Linked DNA regions of Homo sapiens: region 1 is linked to region 2. The links are contacts of gene promoters, found by promoter capture Hi-C in blood cells and fetal thymus (Javierre and others, 2016). All regions are on one chromosome and are shown on one strand. The core of a region is centred on a gene start or on the middle of the fragment in contact, and the rest is flanking DNA. Distances in the headings are between cores, read along the strand shown.

What was found. The method cuts DNA at HindIII sites, captures the fragments that hold promoters and counts their contacts. A CHiCAGO score of 5 or more calls a contact.
Region 1: a contact is called between a fragment that was not itself captured here and the fragment with the promoter of DYTN in region 2, in 5 of 17 cell types (activated CD4 T cells, naive B cells, total B cells and 2 more). The highest score is 8.7, in activated CD4 T cells.

What each region holds. Positions count from the first base shown.
Region 1 is chr2:208,066,701-208,073,561 of GRCh38, forward strand. LOC105373854 (a long non-coding RNA gene) reads left to right here. Exons shown (of 4, transcript XR_923815.3): 2 at 2,831-3,001; 3 at 5,563-5,660. Among named protein-coding and RNA genes, the nearest start is that of PLEKHM3, 45 kb to the left of the region's middle. The HindIII fragment of the contact is 2,662 bases long and covers 1,352-4,013 here.
Region 2 is chr2:206,713,774-206,720,675 of GRCh38, forward strand. It overlaps DYTN (dystrotelin), which reads right to left and starts at 4,623. Exons shown (of 12, transcript NM_001093730.1): 1 at 4,488-4,623. The coding sequence starts at 4,506. The HindIII fragment of the contact is 17,717 bases long and covers 1-6,902 here.

The DNA.
Region 1 (6,861 bases), core at 1,433-3,932, 1.4 Mb after region 2:
AAAAAAAAAGAAAAAAAGAAAGAAAAAAGAAAAATTGTTCAAGTTCTTAGCAAAAATGGAAAAGTACAAATATTGGGTTATAAAATAAAACTGTTGCTTATCCCTGGTCTTTTCCATTAAAAGATTCCCAAATAATAAATATCTCTAGGGCCTAAGATCAAATCCAGAATAAGATGCTTTGTCAGAAAAATTTAAGGGCAGGCCTAGTAGTATGTCTAAGAATCTCAAGGATGTGCCTCATAGACCATCTCAGTAAACAATAGAACTTTTAAGACTCCTAAAGGTGTTGTCTCACAGGAACCTCAAAGGAGATCCAGGTATTTCTAATGAGTAAAATGGGCACATTTGCATCTTCTTGACAGGATTGCTGTGACTATTAAACAAAATAATACCCATTCATTCTAAATATATGCTGATGTCTACTCTATCCCAGGCACTGTACTAGTGTTTGATAATTTCTAAGAGTTATTAATCTGCAGGATTCTGGAACAAAAAACTAGAATTCTTGAGAATTCTTGGTGATCCTCAAAATCATAAGTTATCTACATTTCCCCATAACATCTTCTTGGTATGTTTTTAAAAACAATGACTGACTACACTAGTAAATAGCGGACCATTTTTCTGTGATGGGATTATACAAAAAGTTTCTAAAGCTTTCTGCAACCAAAACAAACAAGAAATCCCCCCAGACAGTGATAATAAATGCATGGGTTATATGGTTTATTATTATTATGGACATATATATTGAGACAAGATTACACTACATTTCAATGACCCATAAAAATAATTTCTACCTGAGTTAGACAATAGAATATATTAAAAGAAGGGAACATTAACACACAATAATGCCAAATAAAATGATTCAAACAATTGAAAGATAATACTGCAAACATTTACATTTTAAAAGTTATTCTTTTTTGGAGACGGAGTCTTGCTCTGTCACCCAGGTTGGAGTGCAGTGGTGCAATCTCGGCTTACTGCAACCTCCGCCTCCCAGGTTCAAGCAATTCTCCTACCTCAGCCTCCCGAATAGCTGAGATTACAGGCTCATGCCACTGCGCCCGGCTAATTTTTGTATTTTTAGTAGAGACAGGGTTTCACCATGCTGCCCAGGCTGGTCTCAAACTCCTGAACTCATGATCTGCCCGCCTTGGCTTCTCAAAGAGCTGGGATTACAGGCGTGGGCCATTGCGCCCGGCCAAAAGTTATTCTTAAAATGAAATTGAAAAACACATAAAGCATGAATTGCCCTGAATGTCTTGGTCCTTGTTTCCTGACAAATATTCCAGGTGTAGAATGTTTTTTCATCCTCTGTTAATGTTAATTTATTATTACTAAGAATGTGTCTACAAGCTTCTTCGAATTGAGCATTAGGGTACGTGTTGGTTATTATAAACTCATTCACTTTTCTTAATGATGAAAATAATTGTCTTCTTTCACTGGTTTTGATTTTTTTCCTTGAAGTCTATGTTATTTTCGCTAATTCAGATTTTAGATGTTTCTGACTTCGTGATGGAATAGTTCCCAACAATATTCACTCTTCTTTGCATTGCTTCTGATAAAGCATATTTTCCTCCACAAAAGTCTTTCCTTAATGATTTTGCTAATTGAGCCATTTCATTTTTGTTTGCTGAAGCAAAAAGAGTTGTCAACCTCATATAAACTAACTGCTGAAATATTTTAATGAGAAATATGAGATCTTTTTTCTGCATTAAATAATTCAATTCTAACTTCTTTTAAAAGCATACTACTCAAAGCACAAGTCTGTTTTCGATTAGAAGATTTGCATCATGATTACTTAATGCTTCAACTACTAATCAAACAAGTTTTAAGCAAGTTATTGTCTCTCTCACAATTTGACAATATTCCATTTTCTCTCTCCTTTCTTCCTGCCCCCCCTACTTCCTCCCTTCCTTTTTTTTTTTTTTTAGACAGAGTCTCACTCTTGTCGCCCAGGCTGGAGTGCAATGGCGTGATCTCAGCTCATTGCAAACTCCGCCTCCTGGGCTCAAGCAATTCTCCTGCCTCAGCCTCCCAAGTAGCTGGGATTACAGGCATCCACCACCATGCCCAGCTAATTTTTGTATTTTTAGTAAAGACAGGGTTTCACCATGTTGGTCAGGCTGATCTCGAACTCCTGACCTCAGGTAATCTGCCCGCCTTGGCCTCCCAAAGTGCTGGGATTACAGGCATGAGCCACCGTGCCTGGCCCCCTTTCTTCTTTTTTTAAGACAAGGTCTTACTGTGTTACCCAGGCTGGAGTGCAGTGGCACGATCATAGCTCACTGCAAGCCTTAACACCTGGGCTCAAGTGATCCTTCTGGCTCAGCCTCTTGAGTAGCTGGGACTACAGGTGTGCACCACTACACTCAGCTATTTTTTTATTTTTAGCAGAGACAGGGGCTCGCTATGCTGCCCAGGCTGGTCTCAAATTTCTGAGCTCAAGTTATCCTTCCATCTTGGCCTCCCAAAGTGCTGGGATTACAGGTGTGAGCTGCTGTGCCCGGCCTGTGTTTTTTTTCTTTCTTTATGCAAGAGAGAATTTCTTATTGGAGAAAATGTAAACAGTTTTACAACTTTCCTTTTTCTAAAAATTGCCAGAAAGACACGACCTTGTGGATTATACTGACTGGCTCCAGCCACATCATCTGAATCAGAGTAATTGCTTTCATCTGTGTCATAGACAGACTACACTGTGTTCACCTCCTCTGCCAGTTGTTTCTGATGCTGTAACCTCCAGTTTTTGAGTAAAACACTTTTGTTACAGCAAGAAGGAACACATTTGCTGAAAACTTTCCAAATTTTTTCGTTACTGCTGCACCATCACTAGCTGTTGATATCGATGGAATTCCTGACCAGTAACATTTCCATGAAGATCATTACAATTTATTTCTTGAAATTCTGGGAAGGCATGGAAACATCACATTGCAGCAGATGCTGGGGATGCAGCAATGAACAAGACAGGCCAGATCCCTACTCTCAGATAAACACAATGATCCAGGTATTTCCAATAATGAAATGACACTGAAGAAATAAGGTGATGTGTCTGGGGATGGCTGTGATATTTTTAGTTAGTATTGAGGTTTAGCGGCATGTAACAGTCAAGCTGCAAATAACAGTGTATTAAATTAGATAGAAACTTTTTTTTTTTTCACGTCAAAGTTATCTAGAGGCTGGTATTGCACACTCCACCCCTATCCCACAGTGCCATTAGCCAGGCCCCTACCTGCTCTTCCTCCCATCCTCACTGCCATCTCAGCATCCAAGGTGTTTTCAGGAGCTCCAGTGATCACATCTGCATTCCAGATAGCAGGAGAGGGGAAAATAGGAAGAAGAGCTGTTTGCTTCCCCCTTTTTTCTCTCCACTTTTTTTTTTTTTGAGATGAGTTCTCACTCTGTTGCCCAGGCTGGAGTGCAGTGAGGCAATCATAGCTCACTCACTGTATCCTTGAACTCCTGGGCTCAAGCCATCCTCCAACCTCGGCCTCCCGAGTAGCTGGGACTACAGGCATGAACCACTACACTTGGCTAATAAGAAAAAAAAAACAAAAAACGAAAACAGGCTGGGCGCGGTGGCTCACGCTTATAATCCCAGCACTTTGAGAGACCAAGGCGGGTGGATCACGAGGTCAGGAGATTGAGACCATCCTGGCTAACACGGTGAAACCCCGTCTCTACTAAAAATACAAAAAAAATTAGCTGGGCATGGTGGTGCACACCTATAATCCCAGCAACTCAGGAGGCTCAGGCAGGGGAATGGCGTGAACCCGGGAGGTGGGGCTTGCAGTGAGCTGAGATCGTGCCACTGCACTCCAGCCTGGGCGACAGAACGAGACTTCATCTCAAAAAAAAAAAAAGAAAAAATTTATATTTTGTAAAGATGGTGTCTTACTATGTTGCCCAGGCTGGTCTCAAACTCCTGGCCTCAAGTGATCCTCCCAGCTCAGCCTCCCAAAGTGCTGGGATTCTAGTCATGAGGCACCTCCTCTGGCCTGTCTGCTTCCCTTTAAGGAAGCTTCTAGGAAGTCCCACTGAACATATCCGTTTACATCCCATTAGCCAGAAACATGGCCACATCCTGCTGCTAGTGAGGCTGAGAAATATGACTGATATACTGGGCAGGAAAGTTTCCAGCTAGGCCGCGCGCAGTGGCTCACACCTGTAATCCCAGCACTTTAGAAGGCCAAGGCAGGTGGATCACCTGAGACCACGAGTTCGAGATCACCCTGGCCAACATGGTGAAGCCCCGTTTCTACAAAAAATACAAAAATTAGCTGGGTATGGTGGCGCATGCCTGTAATCCCAGCTACTCGGGAGGTTGAGGCATGAAAATTGCTTGAACCCGGAAGGCGTAGGTTGCAGTGAGCTGAGATCATGCCACTGCACTCCAGCCTGGGCGACAGAGAGAGACTCTGTCTCCATCAAACAAACAAACAAACAAACAAACAAACAAAACCCAAAACATTTCCAGCCAAAGATCAGGGTTCTGTTTTGCATGTTGGGAAGGGCAGACAGGAATGAGTGGTCAAAGAGGTCTTTTCCTAGGAAGCAACAATTTGGAACTTGAATGATAAGAAGCCTCCAGTTAGATGATGGAAGCAGAATGTTTCAGGCAAGGGAAACAGCAAATGGAAAATGGCAATTTCATGGAAACAAGAAAGTCTGAAACATAATGAGAAGGAAAGGAGATTAGTCTGGGATAATAGATAATGGCTAGACCACACAGGCCTTTACCTGTCAGAGAATTGCTTTCATTTTTTAAAAAACTGAAAATTTTTAATTGCATTGGGATTTTTTTCTTTTTTTTGACTGAGTCTCACTCTATCACCCAGGGTGGAGTGCAGTGGCATGATCTCAGCTCACTGCAACTTCTGCCTCTTGGGTTCAAGTGATTCTCATGCCTCAGCCTCCTGCATAGTTGGGATTACAGGCGTGTGCCACCATGCCTGGCTAATTTTTGTAGTTGTAGTATAGATGAGGTTTCATCATAATGGCCAGGCTGGTCTCAAACTCCTGACCTCAGGTGATCTACCCACCTTGGCCTCCCAAAGTGCTGGGATTACAGGTATGAGCCACTGTACCCAGCCTGCAGTGGGAATTAATTTTAAAGGAAGGAAGTGACATGACTTAGAGTCTCGCTAGTGCTGATATATAGTAGATGTTAAAGAAATCTATCCTTAAGTACGCTGGAAATATCTTGGTTTTTAATCCTGATTACATCCCTAATCATTTAATGGGATGTGGGAAATTATTGATTGTTTTGCCTTATGTCTATAGGCAACATATAAAATTATATTTGTTCATCAGCTGCCTGAATAAAACCAATAATCCATGAGGTAGATCCACAGTAGCATGCTTTCCGTAGAGGATGTGGGGTACAGCAGATATGAGGCACTTGTGTGTTTGTGTGGAGGGGAGTACTAATAAATAAGAAAACGTCACATGTGTATGTATCTGTGCTTGAGGCAGCTCTTTGAGGATGTGTGCAAATCAAGAAAAGGGCTTTTATTTTGATTCCTTTAATTGTGCCTTATTAACTTTTTTTCTTTTTTCTTTATTAAGGTCAGTAGGCATTTGGTAGGAATCTGCATCAAACTGTTGGGCAATGGTAGACAGCAACATTGACGTCTGTAAATTTACACTTGGATTCTTAGTTTCTGGTGAGTAGTTTGTGCTCCTTCAACACTCAGTGAGAGATGATGATAAGCAAACCTTCAGCCTTCAGCTTTCCTGATGCAGTAGGAATTGCCACAAATGCCTGGCTGTGGTCGCCCTCTACTGGACGAATTAAGCCTAACGTTTAAAAGCCACCAGACCACTGTTCCCTTTATAATATCCTCTTCTGCCAAAGCCTACTCACCCTTTAGGTCTGAGAGAGGCCTCTCAGCATCCCCCCTTTCTCTCACCATCTCTGATATGTGTGTTCGTATGACTATTTGATTGACGTCTGTCTCCTCCCTTTCTGCATAGGCTGTAGTCTGCATGAGGGCAGGGACTCTGTTTGCCTCCGAGTGCCTGACACCATTCTTCAATAAATATGTGTTAAATGGATGAATAAAGGAGGAATGAAGGGCCCAAATGTCAAGAGTGAGCCTTTCACACTTCACTCTAGCTGACTGCAGCACGTAGGAGAAAATATAAATTCAAGGCATCTATCCTGCAAATTTTTTTCAAGCAACTTACGCTACTCTTAAAAACCCTGTTTATTAAAGTATTACATATATACAGAAAAGTGCACACATTGTAAGTGTCTAGTTCAATGAATTTTCAAAAACTGGTCACACCCCTGTAACCAGTACACAGATCAAGAAACAGAATGTCACCAGAAACCCAGAAACCCACCCGTGCCCTTGTGATTTTAACAGTATAGAGTTCTTTTGCATGTTTTTATATTTTATAAAAATGAAATCATACAATATGTACTTTTTTGCATCTGGCTTCTTTTCTTCTTTTTTTATTTTTTGTTTTTTTGTTTGTTTGTTTTGTTGTTTTTTTTTTTTTGAGACAGAGTCTCATTCTTGTCGCTGGAGTACAGTGGCATGATCTTGCTCACTGCACCCCCTGGGTTCAAGTGATTCTCATGCCTCAGCCTTCTGAATAGCTGGGACCACAGGCATGCATCACCACACCTGGCTAATTTTTGCATTTTTCTGTAGAGATGGGATTTCGCCATGTTTCCCAGGCTGGTCTTGAACTCATGAGCTCAAGTAATCGGCCTGCCTCAGCCTCCCAAAGTGCTGGGATTACAGGTGGGAGACACCACACCCAGCCTTGAAAACACATTTCAATATTTTGTTAAAGATGAGCAGAAAAGGGCCAGGAGCGGTGGCTCACACCTATAATCCCAGCACTTTGGGAGGC
Region 2 (6,902 bases), core at 3,373-5,872:
CAAGGATTTCACACACAAGCAAGCTCTGAAGCCAAGACTTACTTGTATTTATGGTGCCCAGAGGAAGAAGTCTTGAGGAAAATGAAACTACTTTCAAATGTAATGTCAGCCGATTAACATAAAACTCAGGCAATGAGGAGTTAGCAGGGTGTGCTGGGGAGTTTTGTGACTAGAAACACAGCCGAGTCTCCAGCCTTGGAACAGGCCCTGAGCAAAAATGAAACAAGGAACTGCTTGGTGTACTTCTTTGATTCAAACATATGTGGCAAGGTCATTTGTGGTGACATTCATTTTTGTCTCGTTCTTGCAGCAAGGGGAGAATTTAAAGAATGGAAAGGCAATGTTTCTGTGTTCATCTTGTAAGTCTAAGCTATTTTCACTCCTCTGGGAGATCTAACAGTGTCTCTGTGTTTAAGGGCCACTCTTTTTTCTTTCTTTTCTTTTTTGTTTTGAGACGGAGTCTCGCTCTGTCACCCAGGCTGGAGTGCAGTGGCGCAATCTCGGCTCACTGCTCCACCTCCCGGGTTCATGCCAATCTCCTGCCTCAGCCTCCCGAGTAGCTGGGATTACAGGCGCACACCACCACGCCCGGCTAATTTTTTGTATTTTTAGTAGAGACAGGGTTTCACCGTGTTAGCCAGGATGGTCTCGATCTCCTGACCTCATGGTCTGCCCGCCTCGGCCTCCCAAAGTGCTGGGATTACAGGCGTGAGCCACTGCGTAAAGACGGCTCTTGAAGTCACCTCCACTCAGGCCTTTGTATGAAAAGATGGACAGGCCCATGAAAGAATTAATCTGGAATTTTCCTGGAGGCGGAGAGAGGCTGATGCCTGGACAAGAAGTTGGGAGATGTCTGACTAAGATTGGGTTTAGGAGGTGTTTCCAGGGCTGTCCTTCCTAGCAGACCCCTGAGTGGGGGAATGAATGGCTGCATGGTGTAGCCAGGGAGACCAGCCACAGGTGTGACAAGGACTTCTGTGTCCAGTCTTGACATGGAGTCCCATGTCTTCAAGTGGAATCCAAAGCCAAAGGCAGAGAGCATCACAAGTGGTGGTCACAATGGACTTCAGTTAGGGCCTTGACCAGTTAGTTGTTCAAGATAGCAGCCTTAGAGCTTTCTGTTTGTCTCCCAGGGATAGTTCCCTCCCAAACTTAACTCAGCCTAAATTTCTTTTTTTTTTTTTCTCGTCTTATTCAGCGTTTCATTAGTAGTGCTAATGTAGCTACTTAGTGCATGTTGAAGGAACAGATGTCTAAGATACTAAGCAGCATTCCAGGCAGAGAACACAGACTGGGCAAAGGCATGGAGGATGGATAAGATGCTGAGCTGCTCACTGTGGCTGGAATGGGAGGTCAGGAATGAGGTAGAAACAGGTGGGAATCAGGGAACAGGCAGGTAGGAACAGGCAGGAGCTATTAGGTCCTTCTGGGTCCCAATCCTACTTTTTGGGGGAGGAACTGTCAAGCCCTGGGTCCTAGGTTTGGATGGATGGAGAAACTGGGTGCCTGTCCAGGATTTCCCAGCCTCCTTGGGCTTTGCCTTCCTCATTGAGATTCCTCCCCAGAGGCGAGGGGGAGGGGAGATGACTTAGGGACGGCAGCTCTCAGATGCATCCTTATCCAGCACAGGGAGCCCGCCAGCTGCCCGTATATATCAGGGCCAGTGTTGTCTTGTTGCTTGCTGGGAAGGGAAGTGTGGGAGATAATTGTGTCTCCTTGGGAAGAAATATGGGTGCAGGCAGAAGCATCTTTCTTTCAGCTTTGGGAGAAGAGATGTTCACTCAGCATCTTCCTCCAGAGTAGGGTGAGGTGAGGGAGAATGTTTAACCCTTTCCCCTTAAACACTCTCTGTAAAATCAATTCCCAAAGGTTAATAATGCATAATTATGCAAAAGGAATTTGGAATAATTCAAAGAGGTTGGCTGGAGAAAGTTCTTGGGGCTAGGAAGGCAGAGAGGAGGTTAGAGAACCATAGGAGTTCAAGGGGGCTGTAGGCAAGTTGGAACAAGTATCAGTTTAGAAAGTGGCTGTGGTGGCCGGGTGCGGTGGCTCACGCCTGTAATCCCAGCACTTTGGGAGGCCAAGGCAGGTGGATAACGAGGTCAGGAGATAAAGACCATCCTGGCCAACATGGTGAAACCCCGCCTCTACTAAAAATACAAAAATTAGCTGGGTGTGGTGGTGCGTGCCTGTAATCTCAGCTACTTGGGAGGCTGAGGCAGAAGAATCGCTTGAACCAGGGAGTTGGAGGTTGCAGTGAGCCAAGATCGCGCTACTGCACTCCAGCCTGGTGGCAGAGCGAGACTCCATCTCAAAAAACAAACAAACAAACAAAAAACAAAAGAAAAAGAAAGAAAGAAAGTGAACTCAGCCTAAATTTCATATCAAGGTACAGTGCCTTGATTTTGATTTAGGAAATGATGTTTCTTGCCCTTGAGTGTTGTGGGGTAAAGTACTAGCTGTTACACATAAGATACTGAGTGCCAGGCACTGTGTGGAGCCACAGAGGGGATTAGAGTGCTGAACCAGGCCAGAGCCACCCCAGGCCAGAGCCATCCCAAAGTAGTGAGAACATGCCACAGGCCTCTCTCTGAATGTATATCCATCCAACAGTCAGCATATGATCATGGATTAAAGACATCTACCTCAGGTGAAGTGGACTGTGCCTAAACATTGTCGCCCAAACAAGAGAGGTTGTTTAAAAACCGTCTACATGTTTTCCTTTCTTTTTCAAGAGGTACAAACATATATATAACTACAATTTGCTCTAAATCTTTTGTTATTCATCATTTCCTTAGGCTTTAAAAATGCTTAGTTTTCAGATAAGATGCCAATGTTAGAGAATGGGAGATGTCAGAAACTCCTCTGTCCTATGTTTGGAGAAAAAAAAAATTGAGAGTAGGCATAATAGGGTGGAAATAATTTACAATAGTGTAATGCCCAACATTTCTTTCCTCTGGAAATTGGCCAATGTTTGTGCCCTGGTTCCTCTCAGATGCACCAAGCAGATACACAGAATCAGCAGACAAGGGGCTCTGCAAGTTCCCAGATGCTGCTCTTGGTAGAGGAGCGACTCTGTAGCTGCTCTACCATCTGGCCATCACTCTCCTGTCAAGTTATGCTTTACAGCGTCATCTGATGAAGTTAGGCAGCATAACACGGCAAGCTGTGATACAGTGCAACATGGAAAATGAATGAGGAGCCCAGGTGAGCCAACACCAGACCCACTTCCTCAAGGCTAACTTTTACATTTTTTTTCTGCCGATGCAAACACACACACACACACACACACACACACACACACAAAACAAACTCAAGAAAGGAAGAAACTACCAAATGTATCACGCCCAAAGCTATGAACAAAGCAGTTTTAGATGCTTAAAGAAATAGTAACACAAGCTACATGTGTTCTTCTTCATGGAAGCAAAATGATTGGGAAATATCTTTTGACCAGGATTCTTGTTTTTGCTCAGCTACATCAGTATATTTATTTTCCACAGATACTAAGGTGGATATAATACAATTCTTTCAAATGTCCATCATCTAGTTCAATGATCCAAAATAGATGCTGTAGGCCAGTGGTCCTCACAGTGTGGTCCCAAGCCAGCAGCATCATGTCACCTGGGAACCTGTTAGAAATGTACATTCCTGGACTCTTCCCAGACCCACGGAATCACAAACTTTGCAGCATATTAACAAACCTTTCAGGTGATTCTGATGCATGCTAATTTTGAGACACACTGCCTTAGAAAATTGAGAAAGAAGAAAATTGAGAGTTGAATGGATTACCTACTGCTTTGTGTAAAGCGTATTAATATGAGAGCCCAAATTTGGAAAACCCAAAGGTATTGTAATCATTTATAATGTTGTTTTAGATAAACAACTAGGGATCATACAGAATTTCATATAAAACAAGTAAGATAACAATGTAGATTTTGGTTAGGGGAGTAAGGCTCCAAACAGATCTAGCAATAGAAATCCCACAGATCAGTTCTGGGCCTAACTTGGCATTCAGCGATGTTAGAAGAAAGGGGAACTAGTTTCTCCATATCCACTTATAAAATTTTCATATAGTGACAACTGTGAGACCTTTCTCCCAACTTGAACTACACAGTACTGTGAACTTACCTATGACATTAAAATATATACGATAATTTCATTTTAATAGTAAACTATGAATATACATAAAACTAAGGTAATAGTTTCTGTGTATTTGAATAGCAATTCAAATGTAATTATGTTGACATCAAGTCTTTTGTTAGATTATTTTTGGTGCTTTCGAGACAATAGACCAGATACTCTTCAGTACATGGTGGATTTCTGTTTAGAAGAGAGAGAAAGCCACTTTAATCAAATAACAGTTTCTTTTTCAGCCAGAAATTTGCCAAATGTTTACTCTTCTTCAAATCAGAGGTCTGAAAATATAACATCTGTGCCTAATTTTTCTGTTTACAAACTATGCTCAGAAACTTGACAATAATACTCACCTTGTTTATCTGGATCCATTTCACAAATTTCCTGGAATGACAGATGGCAAGTGGGTCCCTGTAACTAGAAATGAACCAGTATTTTAAGCAGAAGGTTTTGCAGCAGAGGAATGAGGACAGGGGAACAAAAAGGCAACTAAACAAATCATTTTACCTGTGGAAAGTGACTGCAAGGTGTTCAAGGTGACTGAAATATCTTGGGAGGAAGAAAACAGGGAGAAACATAGAAGCAGAGGCTCCTGATACTGACCACGCTTCTCAGAAAACTGAGAACAGCTCCTGAAACTAATACCATGATGACTTAGAGGCTTTGAGGCATTGTAATTTTAAGAGTGGACTGTATTCTTACTTTAAGATGATATCAATTTACTTGAACTTTAAGAACAAAATTTGAAACTCTCAATACTTAAATTTCTAATAATACTATGCTAAATCATTCTACATATTAAATTTCTAACAAAAGCTATCAACTTGTCATATATATGCATATATACATACATGTATGTATATGTATACATAGGATTCTGTTAATAATTAATTTTTAAAAGAGTAGTCAATTAGCTACCTTTGTTAATTGTTTCATGTTGCAACTATTGTTCAAACAACACACACACAAGAGGTTTGTGGAAAATGTATATTCTGAAAAAAAATAGGCAAGGATTTCAAAATTTTTTTGTACCAAAATAAACTCACACTAGATTGTTGAAGCATGTCTGAACAGGATTTAGTTTGAAGCATTAAGAAGGATAAGATATCAGTCTGAAAATAGCTCTTGAGAGCAACATGAATTCTGCTAAAATGGAAGCAAGAACAAACGTCAAATTTATGGTAAAACTTGGGTGGTAAAATAGTAAAATCATTGATGCTTTACAAAAAGTTTATGGGGACAATGCCCCAAATAAATCAATAGTTTACACCATGGAATACTATGCAGCCATATAAAGGAACAAGATCATATCCTTTGCAGGGACATGGGTGGAGCTGGAAGCCATTATCCTCAGCATACTAATACAGGAACAGAAAACCAAAGACTGCATGTTTTCACTTATAAGTGGGAGCTGAACAATGAGAACACATGGATGCAGGGAGGGGAACTACACACACTGGGGCCTGTTGGAGGTGCAGGAAGAGGAAGAGCATCAGAATAAATAGCTAATGCATGTAGGGCTTAATACCCAGGTGATGGGCTGATAGGTGCAGCAAACCACCATGGCACATGTTTACCTGTGTAACAAACCTGCACGTCCTACGCATGTATCCCAGTACTTAAAATAAAATTAAATTTTAAAAAAAGAAAGGAAAAAAGAAATCAGTAGTTCACAGAGAGATAACTCATTTTGAGAAGGGATGAGAGGATGTGAAAGATGAAACCCACAGCAGTGGACCATCCACATCAGTTTGCAAGAAAAAAATGAAGTTTTTTCTTTAAAGAAATGTGAATGCTGTAATTTAAGAGGACAATTAACAGAAGAAACAATAGCCAACTCCATAGATAGCTCAACTGATTGAGCTTACACAATTCTAACTGAAAAATTGAAGTTGCGCTAGCTTTCTACCAGAAGGGTGCCAAAACCATTGCACGTAGATCAGCTGCAGACAAGAGCAGGGTCAATGGAAATTTTAAACATGTGGGACCAAGATTCTGAAGCCTTTCTTTGCAGAATTGTAACAAGAGATGAAACATGACTTTGCCAGTATAATCCTGAAGACAAAGTACAATCAAAGCAACGGCTACCAAGAGATGGAAGTGGTCCAGTCAAAGCAAAAGCAGACCTATCAAGAGAAAAGGTTCTGGCAACAGTTTTTAGGATGTTCCAGGTATTTTGCTTGTTGACGGGCCAAAAGAACAATAATATCTGCTTATCATGAGAGCATTTTGAGAAAGTTAGCCAAAGCATTAGCAGAAAAACACCCAGGACAGCATCACCAGCGAGTCCTCCATGACACTGCTTCTGCTCATTCTTCTCATCACATAAGGACAATTTTGCAAGTGATTTGAAGAGAAATCATTAGGTATCCACTTTACAATTCTGATTTGGCTCCTTCTCTTTTCTTTTTGTTTCCTAATCTTAAAAAATCTTCAAAGGGCACCTAGTTTTCTTCAGTTAATAATGTCAAAAGGACTGCACTGACATGGTTAAATTCTCAGGATCCTCGGTTCTTTAAGGATGGACTAAATGGCTGGTATTATCACTTACAAAAGTGTCTTGAACTTGATAAGGCTTATGCTGATAAATAAATTTGTTTTTATTTTTATCTTTTAATTCCATTTTTCCATGAACTTTTGAAGTCTCTGTGTGTGTCTAATATACTATATATATACACATATATATTCATTTTCAGCAAAAAGAATGGGTTGTGGTGTAAGAAAAGCCTTATTAGTTCTCAGAAAAAGATGTAACATGGGTACATAAC